3 separate regions of the Homo sapiens genome follow, and regions 1 and 3 are each linked to region 2. Evidence: promoter capture Hi-C in 16 types of primary human blood cells and fetal thymus (Javierre and others, 2016). All regions are on one chromosome and are shown on one strand. The core of a region is centred on a gene start or on the middle of the fragment in contact, and the rest is flanking DNA. Distances in the headings are between cores, read along the strand shown.

The links. Contacts are between HindIII fragments. The CHiCAGO score rates a contact against its expected background, and 5 or more counts as called.
Region 1: a contact is called between a fragment that was not itself captured here and the fragment with the promoter of APPL2 in region 2, in 1 of 17 cell types (M0 macrophages). The highest score is 5.2, in M0 macrophages.
Region 3: a fragment that was not itself captured here is called in contact with the fragment with the promoter of APPL2 in region 2 in 2 of 17 cell types (neutrophils and non-activated CD4 T cells); the score reaches 7.1 in neutrophils.

What each region holds. Positions count from the first base shown.
Region 1 is chr12:106,224,183-106,228,248 of GRCh38, forward strand. No RefSeq gene overlaps it. Among named protein-coding and RNA genes, the nearest start is that of CKAP4, 22 kb to the right of the region's middle. RefSeq lists an enhancer at 1-44 and a silencer at 95-204. The HindIII fragment of the contact is 4,033 bases long and covers 19-4,051 here.
Region 2 is chr12:105,234,805-105,239,217 of GRCh38, forward strand. It overlaps APPL2 (adaptor protein, phosphotyrosine interacting with PH domain and leucine zipper 2), which reads right to left and starts at 1,370. Exons shown (of 21, transcript NM_018171.5): 1 at 1,155-1,370. The coding sequence starts at 1,208. RefSeq lists silencers at 949-1,198, 1,249-1,388 and an enhancer at 1,253-1,753. The HindIII fragment of the contact is 6,549 bases long and covers 1-4,413 here.
Region 3 is chr12:104,299,110-104,303,240 of GRCh38, forward strand. All of the region lies in intron 4 of TXNRD1 (thioredoxin reductase 1), which reads left to right. Among named protein-coding and RNA genes, the nearest start is that of EID3, 2.6 kb to the right of the region's middle. RefSeq lists enhancers at 1,889-2,058, 2,597-2,766. The HindIII fragment of the contact is 2,433 bases long and covers 1,394-3,826 here.

The sequences.
Region 1 (4,066 bases), core at 785-3,284, 990 kb after region 2:
TCAGGAAAAATTGGGCCAAGCTTCTTAACGGCAGGTCCCAGCTACTTCCATGCAGTCTGGCCTAGAACCTTCATCGGCTGCAGCTGCTCCCTCCCGGGCCGCTGCACTACAGTGCCCTCTTCTGGTAGTGGATGGCAATTGCCTCTGAGTGGCACCTGATTTTCAGGACTGTCCTGTGGCTCTGACATCTCCTCAGCATAGACTTTCTCTGCAGAGGGGCTCTAGGGGTTGAGTGTGTGGGCTGCCTCTCTGCAGATTTTACTCCCTCTCTCCTGTGCCCCTCCTTACCTCAGCAAGCCCCGGTTCCTTCCCGTGAAGGCTAGGAGGAAAGTAGCCATCTGCAGAAGAATCTGGGGAGGGACTGCCATGGTGGGCTTTAGTTCTTGGCTAGAAGAGCCTCTGTTCTCGGCAGGAGAAGCCAAATTGCACAAGAAAACCCAAAGATCTTCTTTGATGTACAAAGCCATGAAGTCACAGCCCTTAAAAGAGGTCGACAAAGAGCCCAAAGTTTCCATCAGGTTGACAATGTCCATGTAATTCATCTCACTCACTGCAAGGATCAAAACACCAAATGCTTCCAGGAGCCAGACAGGAGGCCTAAATGAATGGAGAAGCAGACACAAGTGAGTGGTGGGAAATGTGAGAATCTAGAGGCCACAGGCCCACCTGAAGACCTCACAATCAAACACAGGCCCACCTGAAGGCACTCACAATCAAACACAGGCCCACCTGAAGGCACTCACAATCAAACACAGGCCCACCTGAAGGCACTCACAATCAAACACAGGCCCACCTGAAGGCACTCACAATCAAACACAGGCCCACTTGAAGGCACTCACAATCAAACACAGGCCCACCTGAAGGCACTCATAATCAAAATTCCAAACTCAACGGGGCACAGTGGCTCATGCCTGTAATCCCAACACTTCAGCAGGCCGAGGTGCAAGGATTACTTGATCTGAGGAGTTTGATACCAGCCTAGGCAACATAGTGAGACCCCTGTCTCTATGAAAAGATCAAAACACGAGCCAGGTGTAGCGGTGTGCACCTGTGGTTCCAGCTACAAGAGAGGATTAAGCGGGAGGATCGCTTGAGCCCGGAGGGTCAAGGCTGCAAGTGAGCTATGATCATGCCACTGCACTCCAGCCTGGGCAATGGAGTAAGACCCTGTCAAAAAAAAAATTCTAAACTCACATTTTGCAGGCCAACAATAGAAGGGCTCATTTCACAAGCCTGGCATTTCAAATTCCCTGCATTTAGTCAATTTCTAAGTACTATTTATTGAGCACTTCACTGTCATGGCCACTGTTCTAAGCACCTCAGATGGAGTAAGCCTCACAACAACCCTATGAAGTAGGCACTATCATTAGCATCATTTGCATTTATAGGTGGGGAGACTGAGGCACGGAGCACTTAAGTAACTGTCCCGATGTCAGACAGATAGAATATGCCATGGCTGGGAACTCAAATAGTAAGGCTCAAAAACTCAACTTATCCAATTTCTTATCTTTTTTTTTTTTTTTTTTTTTGAGACAGGGTCTCACTTGGGCTAGAGGGCAGTGCTGCCGTCATGGGTCACTGCAGCCTTGACTTCCCAGGCTCAAGCAATCCTCCCACCTCAGCCTCCTGAATAGCTGGGTCTACAGACATGCATCACCACACCCGGCTAATTTTTATATTTTTTGTAGACATGGGGTTTTCCGCCATGTTGCCCAGGCTGGTCTCGAACTCCTGGGCTCAAGCAATCTGCCTGCCTTGTCCTCCCAAAGTGCTGGGATTACAGGCACAAGCCACTGCACCTGGCCAGAACCCAGTGTCTTAACCACCAGTACTATACACACAGTACAAGTACATAGTTGTATCCTGGGACATTATGGGAAGCTGATTTTATTACTATGGGAAAGGGAGTATGGTTTAACAGACAAAAAGCAGGCCTTATTAGAGACAAACAGAGTCCGAGTCCTGCTGCTACCACAGACTGCGTGCTCCCAGAGCAAATTAATGACCATTTCTTAGTGTCTGATCAGTAAATCAGAGACAACCACTTTTACTCCCTGGGATAATCGTCAGGGTAAGCGAGATGATAAATGTGTTCCACCTAAAGCATGACATCAAACACAAAACACAATTATGGGTGACTATTACTTAAGTGAAGGACTAAGCATCCAACATTTGACTTGCCTTATTTAAAGGGCGCCACTTGCACTTTTTTTTTTTTTTGTCCTTTTTGAAACAGAGTCTCACTCTGTTGCCCAGGCCGGAGTGCAGTGCTGTGATCTCAGCTCACAGCAACCTCCGCCTCCCAGGTTCAAGCGATTCTCCTGCCTCAGCCTCCCGAGTAGCTGGGATGACAGGCACGTGCCACCACGCCCAGCTAATTTTTTGTGTTTTTAGTAGAGATGGGGTTTCACCGTGTTAGCCAGGATGGTCTCGATCTCCGGACCTCGTGATCCGCCCACCTTGACCTCCCAAAGTGCTAGGATTACAGGCGTGAGCCACTGCGCACTTCTTAACTAGCTTGACATAGGAACGATAAAGGTCTTTCGGTATCTAAACTTCTACTAACAAAAGATTCATATTAAACAAAACCCTTTATTACCTAAGTTTTCAAAAGGGGCTAATTAGTAGGATAGTATACACATTACAAAAGCATTCATGTCACAGAGAAATACACACATAGGTCTTTTAAATAGTGGATTTCTCTGGTATTTTTAATGGTACAATTGGATTTTATCCCCTTTCTGGAACAAGAGCGAAAAATGAAGAAATCATTCCTGTGATCCCTGACTCTGACACTAGATGGCAATAAATTCTCACTTCAATTATGTTCTCTGGGTTCCTACTGCCACAGTCAGCTGATTTGGGGCTATTCCCCAGCTGAAAGTTCAGGGGCTTGAGCCGCTCTGGATTTTTTACTGGTGCATCCCGGCATCTTCTGAAAGTGAATAGTCTTCACATGAGGTTATCCAAGATGTCAGCCCGGCCCGGCCAACATTCCCCATTTCACCCCAATAAATGAGAAAACATTAATTGTGACCCAGTGTGTGCCGGCCCCCATGGGAGCTACAAACAGACCCTTGGTTAAGACAGAAGCCACCCTGGCCCCTAGAGATCTGCTCACTGTCTAGTCCTTTTTCCCTTAGGCCTCCTCCTGCCCACCCGAGGCTCCAAAAGACTCTTGTGCAATGGTTAAAGTCAAGGAAAGTTGGATCTGGAAGAGAACATGAAGATTACTTTATCTCCCCTCACTTTTCAGATGGGAAAACAGATGGAGGCCCAGAGAAGGAAAGTGAATTATCCTAGGCAGCACAGCCCGGCAGGCCAGCATTCGGACCAGAGTCCTGATTCCAGGTGACTTCCCCCATCCCTGCTGTTCTTGTCACACCATGTGAGAACTCCGTCCTGGAGTGCAAACCAAGATCATACCCGTGAATGGAAGAAAACAAAAAGACCTAGCCTTCTGAGTTTCCATGAAGGACTCTGTGGGACAGGATGTGTCCTCACACCAGCAGCCACACCCAGTTGGTAATGCCTCTTTCAACACAACATCACCAGCTATTTGAACACAGGCCGGGATTTCCCCACAGCCCCATTACCCAACAGGTATTGCTCCTGAGTGTTCGCTGCCACACGCGGGGGCTTGCACAGCAAGGCCAGGCTGCCACACCCCTTCCTGCCAAGAGTGGGTTTTGCTGCCTGCAGCAACTCAACTGCCCTGATTCTTCGCTTACTTCTGAGCATTTTGCATCTGTGCTTAGGCCTGGAGCCAAAACAAATTGTGGGGGATAAGAGAAGAAATTAGGCCCTGTCTTCTTAGCCAGTTAGTGTATGAGCTTGGGTGAACAACTTCTCTGAGACTCAGCCTCCCCATCTGTAAAACAACAGAATTAGATTAGAGCCTTCTCTCAGCCTTAGCTTTCTAAGGCCTGTCACATGGCTACTTAGCTATCATTACTATGAAAAGTAATCATGCGTAAATGCAGCACTTCACGTAATATATGTAGGCGTCATTTGTTTTCTGACCTGTACTAGTTTAACTATTAAAAGTATAAGCTTTTCTCTATGT
Region 2 (4,413 bases), core at 120-2,619:
AAAAAGTCGTCCAGAGGATGCAAACTTACCAAAAAACAAAACAAACAAACAAAAAACACACACACAGCTTGCTTCCAGTTCCTTACTTATCTACACTAGGAGGATCACAAAAAATGAACAAAAGACACCTATGCATACAGCCCTTCGGACTTATTCTGAACTGTCGATGTAGGTAAATCCATACAAGGATCATCCTGGGAAGTATTATTCACTTAGAAGAAAAAGGGAAGGAACCCCAAAAGAGAGGGGAAAGTGTGAAACGAAAATAGGTTAATCTTATTCTAAGTTTTCAAGAGTTGAGACACTAGGAAATAAAGGCACTTATTTAAATAAACCCGGGATGCTGAACCAGGAGTGTAGGTACGAAGCTGGAGAAATGTTAAACAAAGGAGAACAAAAGACCCCTGGGGAAAGATGTGCTGAATTATGAACTAATGTCATCCTGCACTCATTTGCTATATTTACACACCAGTTTTCATCTGCAGAGCTCAAAGGACTTGACTCTCATCTCGAGTGTGCTAATGAAGTTCCCTTGTGCGACAAATGGGGCAGGTACTGTATTTTTCTCTTCACTAATGGGAAAACGGTGCCAAAAGGAGGCCTGGTACCGCCGGAAAAGAGATCCAGGCCCTCTGCCTCTCATTCTGGCTGGCACAAGTCTCATCACATCATTAGGAGTAGCAGTAATAAGACTGACTCATTATCTGTACCGGACATTGTCTGCTGACAACTTTACAGGTATTTCTCATTGACTTCTCCTAACAACCCTATGAAGCAGGCACAATTATTATTCCTATTTTACAGACGACAAAACTAAGGCACAATAAGGTGGTTTTCCTGAGGCACTCAGCTACTACATGGAATCAAAGTTTAGATCTCGCAGACTCAGTTGCAGCTGAGCTTGCAGGGGGGTCACGACATCAAGACTCCGGCCGCGGGGCTCTCTCCCCTGTTCCACAGCTCTGCCCCGGCTCAGGACTCAGGGCCCGGCCCGCCCCCTCCTCAGCCCGAGAGAACCCGGTGGGAGGCGCCGCGAGGGGGCCGGGCGCACTCCCGCGGCTGCCCGGCCGGGGGCGCGGCCTCCACTCCGGGGCTGGAGGGGCCTCCTCGGCCTCACCCCTGCGGGCGAGGGGCACCGGAGCGGCGGGAGGTACCTGGGGGCTGTCCTGCAACGCCTCCTCTAGCAGGAGCTTGTCCACGGCGGGCATGGTGCGGCGCGGCTCAGCCGAGGGCTGGGTTGGAAGGACAGAGGGCAGGAGACGCGGCGGCCGAGAGCACTCCCCGGCTCTGGGCTCAGGCGACGCGGCGGCCACTCCGTGCCCGCGGCGGCCCCGCGCGCGTCCACGCCTGGCCAGTGGCCGCCGCCGCCTGCCCGCCGGCCCAGCCCCCGGCCGAGCCGGATCAACAGGAAGTGTGGCGCGCCCGGCAGGGAAACCGGAAGTGTGGTGAGCTCCGGTCCCGACACCGGAAATGTGGCGCCCGCGCTTCCGCCTGCGCTCGCCGGCTCGCGGGGAGCGGGGGGCTCTGGGTGCCAGTCCCGTTGCTGAGGGAACCCTTCGGGTGTTTGTTCTCTGTGCTGAAGGTCCGTCAAGTCAATGCATATGAAGTCCAAAAGAGGAACTCGAGGGTAGAAAGATAAGGTTTTATCTGCTTATGGCTACCCAGAAAGCCTTTTGAGTTGAAGGAGCGAACAGATTTTTTCTTTTAATGGAAGGAAAAACCCACACTTCCCACACCACTTTTTCTAGATAAATTTCGACGCCCCTGAAACAGCTCTGAGAGCAAAGAGGTCGCCTATGCTATGGGAACAAAGAAAAGAGGAGAAAAGCTGGATAACTGACTCGTCTGTGATAATCAGAAATAACCACTTTGGAAACCACAGCTATTTGATGTGGTCATAATTAGGTCTCGTCCTCCTGGTTTATGTTTTGTGATTTTGGAGAATTTCATAATCAAATGTTTAGAATTGGAAGGGCTAGATAATCTAGGTTCCAGTGTTGTCATTTAGAGATGAGAAAATGGGACCCAGAGAAATAAGTGGTCTGCCCAGGGTCAGTTAGTAAACGCCAGAGGAAGAAAAGAAGGAAGGGAGAGGGATGGAAGAAGACTGGCAAGTGGAACGTGACACCTTTTTACACGGAAGGCAAGGGTTTCTGAAGTTCCTTCTTTAGAAGTTAATAAGACTGGCCGGGCGTGGTGGTTCACGCCTGTAATCCCAGCACTTTGGGAGGCCGAGATGGGTGGATCACGAGGTCAGGAGTTCAAGACCAGTCTGGCCAAGATGCTGAAACCCCGTCTCTACTAAAAATACAAAAATTAGCCGGGCGTGGTGGCATGCGCCTGTAATCCCAGCTACTCGGGAGGCTGAGGCAGAAGAATCACTTGAACCCGGGAGGCAGAGGTTTCAGTGAGCCGAGAGGGCACCACTGCACTCCAGCCTGGGCAACAGAGCAAGACTCCGTCTCAAAAAAAAAAAAAAAAATCATGCAGTATGTGTGTCACCAAAATCAACAGAGGGGATATGGTAATATATAAATTCTGCATTCTGCAGAGACCTCTTAGGTATATCAAGACCCAATCTGCATTGCTGACACCTCTGACAGTCTAGTATAGTAGCATGCTGCCTGATCACTTGAAAACTCCAAGGCCATTATTCCCTTGGTCTGGCCAGCGCCAACCTGACCTGAACCATTTTATGGCCTCCATCTACCATATTTTCCTCCACAGTATTCTTTCTTCCCTATTCTTTCTTGCCTCCACCATACTCTTGTCTTCCCTATAGGTGGAATCATGCTCACACCATATTTCTTCCCTTTCCTCTATTTTATACCGCCTGCCATTCAGTTCATTTTACCTCATCCAGTGTCCCAGACTCTCTTCTCACTGAAATCTAATTCCTCACGGCCAGACTCATGCTCTTCCTTCATCCTGATTGCGAGAACAGTACAAGGATAGTATTATACCCAGGGAAATAAATGTGCACATTTTAATTTGAAAATATGCATTACAAGAAGTTAGTGCCCTCAGAACCCTTGAAAGGGCTCAGACAGCCCCTTGGGAATCACAGCATTTTTCATGTACCACCTCATCTTCTAATTAAAGTTACTTTTCTTCAAATACTAGTATTCAACATTCAAAAATTGTTTAAGCTATCCCATTACTTTTCTGCATTTTCTTGCTACATTATGGGCTAAACAGCCTTAGTGGGATTTCTTGGAACTTAAGAACTGTTTACAACATTGTTTCTATGGGAAAATCTATCCCAAATTCAAAACAACTAAGTTACAAAAGTAGATCTGGAAATACAACACATGCATAAATGGTTTTAATTTATCTCATTTGTTAATTCATCCAATCATTCATTCATGTATTAAATATAGACTGCTCAGTGTTAAGCACTGTCTCCCACTTGTTTGATTCTCATTTAAATTCTGAAGGCAAATATCCTCTCCTTTGATAATCTGTGAGAAACTACATAAGAGGAATTTTTATGTCAACATGAACATTTAAAAATGTTTCATTAAAGAGTATATATCTGTTCCTATTAAACTATTATGCAGGTGGATTTTAGAAATCCACCCCACTGTCTCTGAAATCCCTGGTCAGCTGTGAAGTTGGTGACAGGAAGTATAAAGATGGACAGTCTGGAGTTGTCGTGATGTCTGAAGAGAGAGAGGATGAATTATATGGAGGTGTAACCTGTGACCCATTGAAGGCCAGTGGGGAAAAGGACACAGTGAGACACAAAAAAAGGACCCAGGATGGCCAGGTCAGAGAAGGCCTGGGGCTTCAGGAGTAAGAGAGAAAGGCAGGAGTGAAGAAGGCAGCTGTTTTGGGAGATGCTTAGCAAACTGCATGATAGGGCACACGCATTGAGATTCTTTCCTCTGCCAGTCAAGCCCTTTCTCCTGCCTCTTGTCTGACAAACCCAACCACAATCATCAAATCCCAGTTTAATGTGACTTTTTTGATGAAGTCTTCATTTACTCCTGTCCCCCCAAGCAGAATACATTTTCCTTTCCTTGAGTGTGCTTCAGTAGCACTTGCCGAGATAATTCTAGAATAACACTTACCTCTCTTTGTTTCCACCTCCAACCTTCCAGCTAGAATGGGTAGGAACTTGGTCTTATTTATTTCTGTAATTAGAGTGCCTAGTACATTACCTAGCACAAAAGCAGTTGCTTGATAAATACTTACTAAACTATAATGTGTTATTATAACTTATACATGATTGATACTCCAGAGTTTAAAAAATGTTTTCATGAATCTCATTTCATTTGATAGCACAATGCTGCTTTTGCCGTTAATCATTCACTAGGTAGCACCGACTGTGTGTTAGACTCTTCTCTAGAAGCTGAGGATATAGGCTGAAGCAAAAAGTAGTCCTTGCCCTAATGGAGTTTATATTCTAAT
Region 3 (4,131 bases), core at 1,360-3,859, 930 kb before region 2:
TTTCTCACAAGCTTTTTCCTCTTTAAGGAGCAGGCAGACCTGTATTTTTTATTGCTTTTGGTATAAGTGGATCTGTGCAATTCAAAGCTGTTTCCTTCAAGGGTCAACTGCAGTAGTATTCCCGTCTTATAAATAAAGACACTGGAGGCTGAGAGGTTAAGCAAGCTGGCTAAGATAATACTAATAGGTAATAGGTCAAGATTGGAACCCAGATCGTCCCCTCCCACAGTCTGTGGTCTTTTCAGAAACTAATTTTCATTAAAAAAAAAAATACAGATATCTGTCTTATCATAGCAAAGTTCACCTTTAATAATAACAAAACACAAAATATATACACACAAACATAACTTTAAAGAAAATTACGATGAAAGAGAAACTGCCAGGCACAGTGGCTCACGCATGTAATCCCAGCATTTTGGGAGGCTGAGGCGGGCGGATCACGAGGTCAGGAGTTCGAGACCAGCCTGGTCAACATGCTGAAACCCTGTCTCTACTAAGAATACAAAAATTAGCCAGGCGTGGTGACTCGTGCCTGTAATCCCAGCTACTCGGGAGGCTGAGGCAGGAGAATCACTTGAGTCCGGGGGGTGTAGGTTGCAGTGAGCCGAGATCGTGCCATTGCACTCCAGCCTGGGTGACAAGAACAAGACTCCGTCTCAAAAAAAAAAAAAAAAAAGTTAAGATGAAAGAGAAACTATACCTAATGTCCTGCTAATTCTGGCAAATCAAACTAGGAATTTTACCACATTTCTTCACAACTCAATATTAAACAGAAGCCATGGTGGTATGAAGGGAGAAAAGCTGCTATGAAAGAAGGAACAGAAAAGTTTAGGGAGGTAGCTATTAGGATAAGTGTATATGTTAGAGTGTGGGACTCAAACCTGACTGATTCCTGGCTTTGGCTCCAAAAAGTCTCTTAAAAATCCATTTGTTATAGGTAAGTGTTAACAGCAAAACCTCACTGGAGAAAAATAGTGGACTCGTGACTTCTTCCTTTATTTGGTTACAGGGAGACATGTGACCTTTGTCATCCACCCTATCACGTTTGTGTTGAGCAGTATGGGTTGTGGGAAAGAGCTCAAGAATGCTTGGAATTAACCTAAACTCCTAGAAAAGGAACTGAAAATATAGGAGAAAAGGGTGAAGAAAAGAGGAAAGGAAATGGAGGTCTGTATTGAACCCTGGGTAGCAACTCTTGAGCGAAGAAAGAGGAAAAAGGGGAAAGAGGGGAGCTAAATTATCTCTGAGGCAACTCAGTCTCATGGTTGCCTGAACTAGTCTATACTGCGGGAATAAGGTAGACGCCACTGGTTTCTTTGAAGTACCAGTGCGCTTCTTGCTTTCTATTCCTGGTCACAGACAAATTTATCAGTAGTGCAGTTTCTTCTTTTTAAGCTTCATTTAAATAATTATTAGTAGCACTTGGACCTTAGGTTAGGAAATCACTGTTTAATGACTTAAAGATTAACCGGCATGGAAATCCCATTCTTTATATGATTGGGGAGAGTTATTGAACTTGAGATTGTTTTACTTTGTAGCAATGTCTAAAGGCAGATTTGTTTTGTTTTGTTTTGTTTTTGAGGCGGGGTTTCGCTCTTGTTGCCCAGGCTGGAGTGCAATGGTGCAATCTTGTCTCACCCGCAACCTCTGCCTCCCAGGTTGAAGTAGCAGGGATTACAGGCATGTGCCACCACGCCCAGCTAATTTTCTATTTTTAGTAGAGACGTGGTTTCTCCATATTGATCAGGCTGGTCTCAAACTCCTGACCTCAGGTGAGCCACCCACCTCGGCCTCCCAAAGTGCTGGGATTACAGGTGTCAGCCACCGCACCTGGCCTAAAGGCAGATTTTTAAAGGTGGAACATAATGCAAGTCTGCCTTTCTTAGGATGATCTAAGTTACATGTTAATAAAGTTCTTGGAGATCTAGCATAGAATGCATTCAGCACTGTAAATCACAACTTAATGTTTGCCTCGATATGCTCTGTTGCTCTGAGCAAGTTGTGTGGGCTGTTATCTCCTGAGAAATCCCTGTAAATGGTATTAGTAATACTTTATAAGCAGGTTGGGAGAATATAGTTTTCTAAGGCATTTTGAAATTCTTAGATGAAAGGGTCTTTATGTAGCAAATTGGTGTCAGCCTATTTTCCTTCCTCTGAGCCAGAAGAAAATAGGCACCATAGGGTGGGAAGGGTTGGCTTATCTGTTAGAGTTCTTTTGTAAGTAGCTTTTGTTGAATTTTTTTTTTGAGATGGAGTCTCGCTCTGTCGCCCAGGCTGGAGTGCAGTGGCGCGATCTTGGCTCACTGCAAGCTCCGTCTCCTGGGTTCAGGCTAGTCTCCTGCCTCAGCCTCCAGAGTAGCTGGGACTACAGGCGCCTGCAACCACGCCCGGCTAATTTTTTGTATTTTTAGTAGAGACGGGGTTTCACCGTGTTAGCCAGGACGGTCTTGATCTCCTGACCTCGTGATCCGCCCGCCTCAGCCTCCCAAAGTGCTGGGATTACAGGCGTGAGCCACCGTGCCCGGCTGCTTTTGTTGAATTTAAAGTGGATGTGAGAAGCTCCTAAGAATATCGTTCACTGTAAAAGCAGACTTTTTTGGATTTGGGTCTTGGAATTCTTAACTGTATTTTCACCTAAGATTTAAAACAAGTTCAAATACTAGTTTGTAATTGGCCAGACTAGGGACAGATACGATCCTTGAATGATCCTGGGTCTCAACTTACCTTTCTTTCATTTTTCCTTTATTTTAGAAGAGGGATAAGAACTTTTTCTGAAGAGCAGTCAACTTTTCCTTTCAGTGTGTAGGATTAATTCCACGAATCTGTGAACTTAAATCTTTGCTGCCAAATAACTTGCAGTAGATGCTGGGATAGTTTTAAATCTATTTTAAGTTATACATTCAGTACATAAGTGCATCTCCGTGTAAAAACAGCTATGTTTGGAAGATCTAAAACGCAGCTTTTGTTTTTGAGAAGCCAACAATCTAATAGGGTAGGATCATATATATGTACAACTAACCGTAATGCATGGTGTTTTGAAAAATGCACGTATCTCCCTGAATTACCCCTAGTTAATAAAATAATTGGGAGCAAATGGTAATATAAGGATTTTGGAGTAACTTAATACTACTAGATTTTGCTGTTTATACATTTACAAAAAACTTTCTGCTAATGCTAAAGAAATAGAACAAGTCTATATGCATAAAGGAAGGTAGGGCTAATTTACTTCCTGGTGCTATGAAACTGGCAATTGGACAGGTGCAATTGTGGGTGTCTTTTTTTTTTTAAGGTGTACCTGTTGCAGGTTTGAAAAGCTGTTGATGCTCATGGGTTGTTTGTGTGCATGTTCTCTTTAAAAACCAGATGTATTCATTCCCTTTTTTTTTTTTTTTTTTTTTGAGACGGAGTCTCGCTCTATAGCCCAGGCTGGAGTGCAGTGGCCCGATCTCGGCTCACTGCAAACTCCGCCTCCTGGGTTCACGCCATTCTTCTGCCTCAGCCTACCGAGTAGCTGGGACTATAGGCGCCTGCCACCGCGCCCGGCTAATTTTTTGTAGTTTTAGTAGAGACGGGGTTTCACCGGGTTAGCCAAGATGGTCTCGATCTCCTGACCTCGTGATCCGCCCGCCTCGGCCTCCCAAAGTGCTGGGATTGCAGGCGTGAGCCACCGCGCCCGGCCATTCCCATTGTTATGTATACTTTGCTATTTGCTGCTGGTGAGACAGATAAGGAGTCACGTCTTTAACTGCACTTGAGTTTCCAGTGACCCCATTAAATCCAATGGGTAAATTTTCCCACGCAGATTACTCACCCAGTTTACAGATTAAGCTTTCATATCCTTAGACTGTATCTGAAATTTTCATAGCTTTGCCCACCTTTTAGGGTTCAGAGTTACTACCCATTCAGTGTCGGTGGCCTTTAGCTGTTGGCAAGCTTCCAAGTAAATAGCTCTTTTGCAGAGATCTCTACCCATTCTATTCTTCCACTCCTGGGTAGTGGAGAACCAAAGTTCACCTGAGTAATGCCCGTGCCCAGCACCCAGTTTCCTGCAGGGGTTAGCACGGATATTGGAGGCTCCCCCGATCCCACAGATACTCAGGATGGGTATTGGAGGGGGCTTGGTTTTTAAGA